4 separate regions of the Homo sapiens genome follow, and all the other regions are linked to region 1. Evidence: promoter capture Hi-C in 16 types of primary human blood cells and fetal thymus (Javierre and others, 2016). All regions are on one chromosome and are shown on one strand. Each heading gives the region's core, a stretch centred on a gene start or on the middle of the fragment in contact. The rest is flanking DNA. Distances are from core to core; before and after follow the strand shown.

Evidence for each region. Contacts are between HindIII fragments. The CHiCAGO score rates a contact against its expected background, and 5 or more counts as called.
Region 2: a fragment that was not itself captured here is called in contact with the fragment with the promoter of ATL3 in region 1 in 1 of 17 cell types (megakaryocytes); the score reaches 6.0 in megakaryocytes.
Region 3: a contact is called between the fragment with the promoter of TMEM179B here and the fragment with the promoter of ATL3 in region 1, in 16 of 17 cell types (erythroblasts, naive CD8 T cells, neutrophils and 13 more). The highest score is 24.6, in erythroblasts.
Region 4: a contact is called between a fragment that was not itself captured here and the fragment with the promoter of ATL3 in region 1, in 2 of 17 cell types (megakaryocytes and M1 macrophages). The highest score is 6.5, in megakaryocytes.

Annotation. Positions count from the first base shown.
Region 1 is chr11:63,670,081-63,672,780 of GRCh38, forward strand. ATL3 (atlastin GTPase 3) reads right to left here and starts at 1,296. Exons shown (of 13, transcript NM_015459.5): 1 at 1,210-1,296. The coding sequence starts at 1,255. RefSeq lists enhancers at 661-1,162, 1,163-1,662, 1,703-1,812 and silencers at 823-1,082, 1,113-1,172, 1,493-1,612. The HindIII fragment of the contact is 2,416 bases long and covers 682-2,700 here.
Region 2 is chr11:63,025,116-63,027,815 of GRCh38, forward strand. No RefSeq gene overlaps it. Among named protein-coding and RNA genes, the nearest start is that of SLC22A8, 11 kb to the left of the region's middle. The HindIII fragment of the contact is 233 bases long and covers 1,288-1,520 here.
Region 3 is chr11:62,786,146-62,788,887 of GRCh38, forward strand. TMEM179B (transmembrane protein 179B) reads left to right here and starts at 1,257. Exons shown (of 5, transcript NM_199337.3): 1 at 1,257-1,382. The coding sequence starts at 1,287. TAF6L (TATA-box binding protein associated factor 6 like) reads left to right here. Exons shown (of 11, transcript NM_006473.4): 10 at 115-243; 11 at 372-1,197. The coding sequence ends at 1,151. It also overlaps a transcript of TMEM223 not described here. RefSeq lists an enhancer at 328-527 and a silencer at 778-887. The HindIII fragment of the contact is 7,473 bases long and covers 1-2,742 here.
Region 4 is chr11:62,878,185-62,880,903 of GRCh38, forward strand. It overlaps SLC3A2 (solute carrier family 3 member 2), which reads left to right and starts at 2,712. Exons shown (of 9, transcript NM_001013251.3): 1 at 2,712-2,719. RefSeq lists enhancers at 2,034-2,083, 2,453-2,719. The HindIII fragment of the contact is 6,323 bases long and covers 1-2,719 here.

The sequences.
Region 1 (2,700 bases), core at 46-2,545:
GGGTGACCAGAGCAAAACTCCGTCTCAAAAAATAATAATAAAACAATGTGCTGGACTACTGCAATACTGAGATCCTTCTCAGCCAAGTGTTTACAGGTGTTAGAGCGGCAACAGGAATTTCTGGAGTACAAGCTAATCTCTGTGGGAATGGAAAAAAAAAAGCACTAATTTGAATTTCAGTACCTATGTTGCAATGCTAAATTCTTGACAGGGATTAGTACTCCGTAGGTTATGCTTCTTAAATCTCCAAAAGTAAGCCAATATGTGAAATCGTACATTTTTGGTCCGTTATTCTAAGACTGACAAAACGTTCCATTGCTTCGTATTTGAATTTGAGAACTGAGACTCATTTAAAAATTCTTCACTGTTCTTTTCCTTTTTGCTCTTCGATTTCGCAAGTGAAACGGTCATTTCAACAGCACACACATTACACTAGAATAAAGCCAAGTAAAATGACAGACTAAATCAGATCCGTGAATACACGGTGACTCCTTATTTGGTTTTTAATACTTTCACTATGTTTCATGTCTTCGGGAAAGCAAAAGAACAACGTACTGTGCCAAAAGCACTAACTTACGAAAAACCAATTTAGACCAATTCTTTACAGCGTTAAGTATGGGTTGAAAACCAACTTTCCTAATACTTGTGGTCAGTGCCTCAAGGTCGTTAGGATAAAAATAAAGCTTCCAAGACACTTCGCAGCCTTCCAGCACTTCCAGAAAGGCCAAATAAACCAGCATTCACCTTCCCGCTCCATCCAGGCCCCGATTCTCCGACCAGAGAGGGCGCTGAGTGCCCGGGCACGGAGGGGCAGCGCCCTGGGGCGCCCGGCTCTGCCCAGGGCGGGGCTCGGCGGGGCCGAAGCTCCGGACGCCGCCCACGGGGACCACCGGCCCTTGGGCCGCCCAGGGGCAGCTGCAGCCCAGGGGAGGAGCTGGAGGAGCCCCCGGCGGCACCAGGGCCCGAGCCCTGACGGCGGCCGCCCCCGGCCGAAAAGTAAGGAAGGTGCCGCCCTCGCTGGACCAGCTGGGCCCGAAGAGGGGCCCCCCCACCACAAATTCGGAAACCGAGTGACCCCGGCGAGGGACGCGCGGTCCCAGCCCCGGGACGAGGAAGGGCGGCGGCGCGGGCGGGGGTTCTTTTCAGAACTACAGCAGGGAAGGCGGCGGGGGTGGCCGCGGGGCGATCCAGGGAAAATCGGCGCCTCACCTGCTCCTCTTGAGGCAGCTGCTGCCACTCGCTGAGGGGACAACATGGAGCCTCCGCCTTCAAAGCAGAAGCAGCAGGGGTGCAGAGGAGAGGGACGGGTGCGGGCGGGAACGAACCGGGCCCTGGAAGCGGGAAACGGGCGGAGCCTGGGCTCTAGAAAAAACTAGCCAGAAGGTGGGGCACGCGGAGCCGCGACGGAGCGAGCGCAGCGCGGTCTGCGTGGCCCAACGGACAGCCCGAGGCGTGGCGAGCGCAGGACGAGGCTAGGCGAGGCGGGGCGGGAAAGCGCACGCGGCAGAATCCCGCCACCGCCTGCCGCGTGTGCGCGAAGCGAGCCGCCGGGTACCTGTTGGCGGGGCGCTGAGTGCTACCGTCCTTTGGGAATTGTAGTCCCGCGCTCACTGGGTCCCGGCCAGCGGTCCTCATACTGCGCACTCATCTGGGGCGGGGCTTGGCGTGGTTCTCCGACGACTGAACTACAACTCCCAGCAGGCTGTGCGGGAAGGGGCGGGCTGGCTCGGGTCCTCCTGCGAGCTGCGGCCGGCGCCTAACGTGCAGACCAGGCCCCAGGCCGAGGCTTTATCCTGGAACCACCAGTGTGAGAGACAGCTTTGGTGTTTAACTAGGCCTGGGACCACAGGTGGGCAGAAGAGAGGCCTCAACCCTGGATGGCATGAACGTCACTGGGTCTTTAATGATTTTGACTTCATAAGGGCAGGTGGCCGTGACTTCATTACCACCTTTATTATCATCTCCCTATATTCCTGTCCCTGGCCATGGCTGATGCGCACCATCACCGCTCTGATAGCTAATGTAAGAAGTCCAGGCCGGGCGCCGTGCCTCACGCCTGTAATCCCAGCACTTTGGGAGGCCGAGGCGGGTGGATCACCTGAGGTCGTGGGCGTTCGAGACCAGCCTGACCAACATGGAGAATCCCCGTCTCTACTAAAAATACGAAATTAGCCAGGCGTAGTGGCGCACGCTTGTAATCCCAGCTAGTCCAGAGGCTGAACAGGAGAATCGCTTGAACCCAGGAGGCGGAGGTTGCAGTGAGCCGAGATCGCACCATTGCACACCAGCGTAGGCAACAGGAGCAAAACTCCATCAAAAAAAAAAAAAAAAAACTTGCACGCACATCCCAGCATTCTCTGCTCCTTTTCCCTGCATTACTTTTCTCCAAAAGACTTCATACCACTTGGCCAGGCGCGGTGGCTCACGCCTGTAATCCCAGCACTTTGGGAGGCTGAGGTGGTTGGATCACCTGAGGTCGGGAGTTCAAGACCAGCCAGGCTAACATGGTGAAACCCCATCTCTTCTAAAAATACAAAAAATTAACCAGGCGTGGTGGCAGGCGCCTGTAATCCCAGCTACTCGGGAGGCTGAGGCAGGAGAGGTTGCATTGAGTGGAGATGGCACCACTGCACTCCAGCCTGGGAGAAAGAGCAAGACTCCATCTCAAAAAAAAAAAAAAAAAAAAAGACTTCCTGCTAC
Region 2 (2,700 bases), core at 154-2,653, 640 kb before region 1:
CCTCTCCTGCCTCAGTACTTTCTGCCACCTCTCCCTCACCAAGATATTACTCCATGCTCCTTTTGCCTCCAGGCCTTTGGCCTCATTGGTTACCCTGACTTGAATGCTGTTCTCCTGATTGTCTTACATTGCCAGGTCATCCTTGTCATCAAGGTCTCATCTCAAATGTCACCTTCTTTTTCTGGGGATTTCATTTCTTACCAGCCACTCCAATGTTGCCTTACCTTCTAGCCATACTCTTATCACCTCTGTCTTGTTTGATTTTCTTCATAGCACCTGTCATGATCTGAAATTGTCTTATCTCTGTGAAACTGGGTCATTTTATGGGCTGGATTTTGTAGAGTGCAAAGTAGGGTATAGTTTTTATTTTTCTTCTGCCTCCATCCTTGCACTTGCTCTGTTGCTTCTCTCTCCCCACATTGTCTTTGTCCATTTTCTGTTGCCTATAACAGAATACCACAGACTGGGTAATTTAAAAAAAATAAAAAAAGAGATTCATTTGGCTCATGGTTCTGGAGGGTGGGAAGTCCAAGAGCATGGTACTGCATCTAGTGATGGCCTTAGTGCTGCATCATAACATAGTGGCAGGCATCACATGGTGAGAGAGGGTGAGAGAGTGTGAGACACAGACAGAACTGGGGGTTGAACTTATCCTTTTACCAGGAGCCTGCTTCCGGGATAACTAACCCACTCCTCTGATAACAGCATTAACCCACTGATGAGGGCAGAGCCCTCATGACCTAATCATATCTTCAAGTTCCCACCTGTTTTTTTTTTTTTTTTTTCCAGACGGAGTTTCACTGTCATCTCCCAGGCTGGAGTGCAGTGGCACGATCTTGGCTCACTGCAACCTCCACCTCCCAGGTTCAAGCGATTCTCCTGCCTCAGCCTCTCAAGTAGCTGGGATTACAGGCGCATGCCACCAGACTCAGCTAATTGTTGTATTTTTAGTAGAGATGGGGTTTCACCATGTTGGCCAGGCTTGTCTTGAACTCCTGACCTCAGGTGATCCACCCGCCTTGGCCTCCCAAAGTGCAGGGATTACAGGTGTGAGCCACTGTGCCGGGCCCCCAGCTATTAATACCATCACAATAGCAATTAAATTTCAACATGAGTTTTGGAGGGGACATTCAAACCATAGCACCCCTCCTTGAAAATGTTTCAGCTAAGTATAGTTTACCCATTTTTTTCAGGTATTAGATCAATTTCAATTTTAGACATTAAAAGTCTGATTCTTTTAGGAGATGTACATTGAAGGATTTAAGAATGAAGAGTCATGGTGTCTGAAGCTTGCTTTCAAGTGATTTAGCAAGACCATGTATACACACATACACACAATGTTAACAAGTTTTGAATCTAGGTGGTGAATATATAGGTATTTATTATACTATTCTTTCAACTTTTCTATATGTTTGAAAATTCTTATAAAATGTTGGGCAAAAAGGAAACTGCTTTTGTCAGGTTAAGAAAATAAACCCAGTCCTATATAAATAAAAATATTTATCTTCCATCCAATATAAAGCTTCTCCTATTCAAGCTGACCAGGCCTGGCTTTCCGCAGTGGGGAAGGTTGGGGGGATGGGCAGCGGGTGTATGGCCAATGTCCTCACTCTCTCGGATTCACCTCCCCTCCCACTCCTAGCAGCTGCTTCAGCTCCTTCAGGGTCTGGGAAGGGAGGAGGGAGGAAAGGAAGAGGAGAGGGCTCCTCAGTTGTGCTCTTGTCATCCATGTGGGGTGTACTGCTGGGCTTCCCCCTCCAGGAACTCTGCCCATACCATTGTTTTTTTTGTTTTGAGATGGAGTCTCACTCTGTCACCCAGGCTGGAGTGCAGTGGTGCAGTTTTGGCTCACTGCAACTTCTGCCTTCTGGGTTCAAGCAATTCTCCTGCCTAGGCCTCCCTAGAAGCTGGGATTATGGGTGTGCACCACCACACGTGGCTAATTTTTGCAATTTAGTAGAGATGGGGTTTCACCATGTTGGCCAGGCTGGTCTTGAACTCCCGACCTCAGGTGATCTGCCCACCTCAGACTTCCAAAGTGCTGGGATTACAGGCGTGAGCCACCGTGCCCGGCCCCCACACCATTCTTGATGTGAGTGATGCCCAGCTGATCTCTCACACTCTGCCCAGTACTACCAAAAAAGCCTCTTTCTGCTGGGGTTGCCTTCTGCTCGCAGGTAGCCTCTTGGGTGAGGTCCCATTGAGGGGACAGTGTATTAGTCTGTTCTCATGCTGACAATACAGATACCCAAGACTGAGTACTTTATAAAGGAAAGGAGGTTTAATGGACTCGCAGTTCCACATGGCTGGGGAGGCCTCACAATCATGGTGGAAGATGAAGGAGAAACAAAGTCACATCTTACGTGGTGGCAGGCAAGAGAGGGTGTGTGCAGGGGAACTCCCCTTTATAAAACCATCAGATCTTGTGAGACTTATTCACTATCATGAAATCACTATCATGGGAAATGCCCACCCCCATGATTCAGTTACCCCCTACTGGGTCTCTCCCATGACACGTGGGAATTATGGGAGCTACAATTCAAGATTTGGGTGGGGATAGAGCAAAACCGTATCATTCCACTCCTGGCCCCTCCCAAATTTCATGTCCTCACATTTCAAAACCAATCATCCCTTCCCAACAGTCCCCCAAAGTCTTAACTCATTCCAACATTAACTCAAAAGTCCATAGTCCAAAGTCTC
Region 3 (2,742 bases), core at 7-2,506, 880 kb before region 1:
AGGATTGAGCCCTGTCTAGGATCAGAGATAAAGGTAGGTCTTTCATGGGAAAGGGTCCTTGAGAGGGAATAAGTATCAAAGACATGCTAACTGTATTCCTTCTCTTCCTTCCAGGCAGTAGAACGAGTCCTGTACCCACACCTGTCCACCTACTGGACAAACTTGCAGGCTGTGCTGGATGATTATTCAGTATCTAATGCCCAGGTCAAAGCAGATGGACACAAAGTCTATGGAGCCATTCTGGTGAGTACCGTCCCCTTCCAGCCTCCCTTCCCTGCATGAGCTTAGCAGCCAAGCAGGCTTACTTTGGAATATTTGATGGGCCCAGGTTCCTCGAATTTTTTGCCTATCTTAGTCCTTGGCTCTTACAGGTGGCGGTAGAGCGACTGCTGAAGATGAAGGCCCAGGCAGCAGAGCCCAACAGGGGTGGCCCAGGTGGCAGGGGGTGCCGGCGCCTGGACGACCTGCCATGGGACAGCCTTCTCTTTCAAGAGTCGTCCTCCGGGGGCGGTGCAGAACCCAGCTTTGGGTCCGGCCTCCCGCTGCCGCCAGGGGGCGCGGGGCCGGAGGACCCTTCTCTTTCGGTGACCCTGGCCGACATCTACCGGGAGCTCTACGCCTTCTTCGGTGACAGCTTGGCCACACGCTTTGGCACCGGCCAGCCTGCACCCACGGCTCCGCGGCCGCCCGGGGACAAGAAGGAGCCGGCGGCAGCCCCGGACTCGGTGCGGAAGATGCCGCAGCTGACGGCAAGCGCCATAGTCAGCCCGCACGGCGACGAGAGCCCCCGGGGCAGCGGCGGAGGCGGCCCCGCGTCGGCCTCTGGGCCCGCCGCCTCTGAGAGCAGGCCCTTGCCGCGCGTGCATCGGGCGCGCGGGGCACCCCGGCAGCAGGGCCCCGGGACCGGCACCCGCGACGTTTTCCAGAAGAGCCGTTTCGCCCCGCGCGGCGCCCCGCACTTTCGTTTCATCATAGCCGGGCGGCAGGCTGGGAGGCGCTGCCGCGGGCGCCTTTTCCAGACTGCCTTCCCCGCGCCGTACGGGCCTAGCCCGGCCTCGCGCTACGTGCAGAAACTGCCCATGATCGGCCGTACCAGCCGCCCCGCCCGCCGGTGGGCGCTCTCGGACTACTCGCTGTACTTGCCGCTCTGAGTCAGTGGCCCCTTCGTTCCTTGTAAATAAATCCCGCCCCCGGAAATGACGTCTCCACCTTCGTGGGTCGCGCCGGATAAGGTGGGCTTTGGGCGGGGTGCTGCTGCAGCGGCGCTTCCTGGTGGTCAGGGCGCCATGGCGCTGTCCTGGCTGCAGCGCGTCGAGCTTGCGCTCTTTGCTGCCGCCTTCCTGTGCGGGGCCGTGGCGGCCGCGGCGATGACTCGGACCCAGGTGCGGCTGCGGGGCGGGGTCAGGTAGGCGGGGGAGCTGGCCGGTCTGGACATGGCGAGGCCACTTTCGCTTTCCGACCGGGCTTGCTGCTGCTCGGAGCCGGTGGACCTGGTGAGGCACGGCTGGCGCCGGCCTGTACCTGAAATGCAGCGAGGCTAATCGCGCTTTGTGGCTCCTCCTGGCCAGGTCATACTTCGAAGTTGTCCCCTCGCCAAAGGGACGGGTCAGTAGCGTCTTAAAGCACTAGGTGGAGTCGGGTTTCGTGGCTCCTGCTGCACAGCCTTACTGTGGTTCCGAAACAGAAGTCAGTGCAGAACCTGCGTCCATCCGTTAAATCAGAAGCCATTTGTGCTGAGCTTTGTCGAGAAATAAAGCATAGTGTAGTGGAGATGATCAAGCTGCCACATGATTGTAGCACAGTGTGTTAAATGACAAAATGAGAGATGGAGAAAACGCTGACGTAAAGGTAGAAGCCAATAATTTACATCGTTTACCCCAGCCAGGTAATCTGGTTAATAAACATGGGTTCATTTAATGCCTATAAAGTAGGCACTAGTGTGCCTATTTTACACCATGAGAAAACCTCAGAGATCCGCCGGGCGCGGTGACTCACGCCTGTAATCCCAGCACTTTGGGAGGCTGAGGCAGGCGGATCACTTGAGGTCAGGAGTTCGAGACCAGCCTGGCCAACATGGCAAAACTCTGTCTCTACTAAAAATACAAAAATTAGCCGGGTGTGGTGGCTCATGCCTGTAATCCCAGCTACTTCGGAGGCTGAGGCAGGAGAATCGCTTGAACCTGGGAGGCGGAGGTTGCAGTGAGTCGAGATCGTGCCATTGCACTCCAGCCTGGGTGACGAGCGAATCTCCATCGCAAAAACAAAAACAAAAACACTGGCCGGGCCTGGTGGCTCACGCCTGTAATCCCAGCACTTTGGGAGGCCGTGGCAGGCGGATCACGAGGTCAGGAGATCAAGACCATCCTGGCCAACACGGTGAAACCCTGTCTCTACTAAAAATACAAACAATTAGCCAGGCATGGTGGCGGGTGCCTGTAGTCCCAGCTACTCAGGAGGCTGAGGCAGGAGAATGGCATGAACCCAGAAGGCAGAGCGTGCAGTGAGCCGAGATGGCGCCACTGCACTCCAGCAAAAAAAAAAAAAAAAAGCACCTCACAGATAGTTATTTGTTGAAGGATATACAAGGCCTGGGTTTACTCTAAGGTTTCTGCACAGAGACCATAACTTGTGAGGCTTCTCTGAAGCTCATTGCATTCTATATTCATTGCCTATTTTCTGATCCTTCTGGCCACTGCCGGTGTGATTCCCCAGCAGGCCCTCTCCATCAATATCCCTGTCCCA
Region 4 (2,719 bases), core at 198-2,697, 790 kb before region 1:
GAATTGACTTCAGCCATTTGGAGCCATGAGGATCTGTGAGTGAGATACTGTGTCATGTTGGACCATCTCAAAGACAGCTTCTGACCCCACAGTTCTCAACCTTGTTCTTACTTATTTTTAGAGACAGGGTCTCGCTCTGTCTCCTAGGCTGGTATGCAGTGGTGCCACCATGGCTCACTGCAGCCTCACAAACTCCTGGACTCAAGTGATCCTCCTGCTTTTGCTTCCCTTGAGTGTTGGCATCTCATGGGACTCCAGGGGCACATCACCAATTACAGATGATAATTTTTTTTTTTTTTGAGACGGAGTCTTGCTCTGTATCCCAGGCTGGAGTGCAGTGGCGCGATTTTGGCTCACTGCAAGCTCCGCCTCCCAGGTTCACGTCATTCTCCTGCCTCAGCCTCCTAAGTAGCTGGGACTACAGGCACCCGCCACCACGCCTGGCTGATTTTTTTTTTTTTTTTTTGCATTTTTAGTAGAGACGGGGTTTCACTGTGTTAGCCAGGATGGTCTCGGTCTCCTGACCTCTTGATCCACCTGCCTCGGCCTCCCAAAGTGCTGGTATTACAGGTGTGAGACACCACGCCTGGCCTTTTTTTTTCTTTTTTGAGACAGAGTCTCACTCTGTCACCCAGGCTGGAGTGCAGCCGCGCAATCTTGGCTCACTGCAACCTCTGCCTCTCGGGTTCAAGCGATTCTCATGCCTCACCCCTCCAAGTCTGGGACTACAGGCGTGTGCTACTATGTCCAGTTAATTTTTGTATTTTTAGTAGAGATGGGGTTTCACCATGTTGGCCAGGCTGGTCACGAACTCCTGACCTCAAGTTATCCGCCACCCTCAGCCTCCCAAAGTGCTGGGATTACAGGTGTCAGCCACCACACCTGGCCTGTTAGTTTTTTTGAGGCAGAGTCTTGCTCTATCACCCAGACTGGAGTGCAGTGGCCCATTCTTGGCTCACTGCAACCTCTACCTCCTGGGTTCAAGCGATTCTCATGCCACAGCATGAGAAGTGGGATTACAGGGATTAGTAGGTGGGATTACAGGTGTGAGCCACCACACCCAGCCAGGCCCAGATAATTTTAAAATTTATTTTTTTATTTATTTAGAAATGGAGTCTCACTATGTTGCCCCGTCTGGTCTTAAACTCCTGGCCTCAAGGAATCCTCCCTCCTTGGCCTCCTAAAGGGCTAGGTGACAGGCATGAGTCACACTGCGCCCAGCCTTGAGCTTTTGTGCTCGAGATATAGTCCATTCAGAACCTCTGGTTGGCACTTCTTATCTGGCACATGCAGGGCACCTTGGATCTCTTATTATCTTTGAGCACTGGTCTGAACCCACTTGCTTGCCTTCTCCCAGGGGCTGCCCCGTGCACCCCTTGTTCCTAGGGTGGGGATGGGGTTGGATGCCTGGGGTTGCAGAGGGGACTAGCAGAGGGTGACCCTTTTCTCTATGCTATTACTTCAGATCTTGGCTTTTGCTTTCTTCCAAATACACAGCAATCTTGGCTTCCAGCCTAGGTGGGAAAGGGAGAAAGAACCGATTTCCTCCAGCTCCTCTCTGAAAGTAGCCCAACTGGCACTGTTTAGGAACAAGGAGTTCCTGAGAGTGTTGGCACCCCACGGTGTTGATGTCCGGTAGTTCCCTGCTGTGAACCCTGTCTCTGCCCCACTTCAATCCAAGGACCCTGTGGAGGGAATTCTAGGCTTCTTCAAAGCCTCTGCAGTACCAGCTGCCTCCAAGGCCTAACATAGTGAAGTGATAGGGAGACAGGACCTTGGGGGAGTTTGGGGATAACTGTGGGAGTTCCTGCAAGGTGGGTAAGAGTCTGGCCATGGCATCTTCTGGTCTATTCCACAAAAAAGGTGGATGCCTCTGAGACCTAGCTCTGTTATGTTCATTACAGCCCTATCAGTCTCTTCTGGATGTCTGATTCCTAGCTGCCAAACATCCAGGTGCTAGCAGCTGGGGGTGGGGTAGGATAAGAAGGGGGGTGTCTACCTCAACCTTCCTGCCCAAACCATTCATTTTAAAGTACTGTGAAGAAGGCTGGATTAGTGTTAAATTCAATAAAGTTAACAAAGCAAAGTATTGTAGTGAGTACACAATAAATAGTTGCTGCATGAGGAATTTCTTGAAATGAATTCAAGATGAGTCTTGAAAAACGAGTGGGAGTAAGCCGTGCACGGAAGCAGAGGTCTAGCAGAGGTCTAGCGCCAAGTCCCAGAGGCCTGAGAGGGCAAGCCTTGGTGGGGGAAAAGGCAGAAGTTGTGACTGGCTGCCTCTGAGAGTGCAAGTAGCCATGCAAAGTTGGGAAAACCAGACGGCGGCCGGAGCCGTGAACCAGGGGCAAATGGAGGATGGTGTTGGGGTAGTCACTAGCCTGCCGGAATGGAAGAAGAGGGGCGTTTGGGGGCGGTAAGGCCTAAAGGACACTGGAGGGGCCTCGGGATTTGGGGCAGGATCACAGGCCTAGTCCACTTAAAGGTGGCTCCGTGCCAGGCCTTCCCAGAATCAGGTTGAAAAGAACTTTAGGGTTAGACAGGTTGGAGATGAGAAATTGGACCATGCAGGAAGTACTGTCGGAGGCGTGTTCCTGACTTTACTACCCTGAGCCGCCCACGGCTGGGGCAGTCCCCGAGGTTCCACCTTAAGGGGCGGGCCGGGGCGGGGCTCCGCTGCCCCTTCCCAGAGGCCGCGCCTGCTGCTGAGCAGATGCAG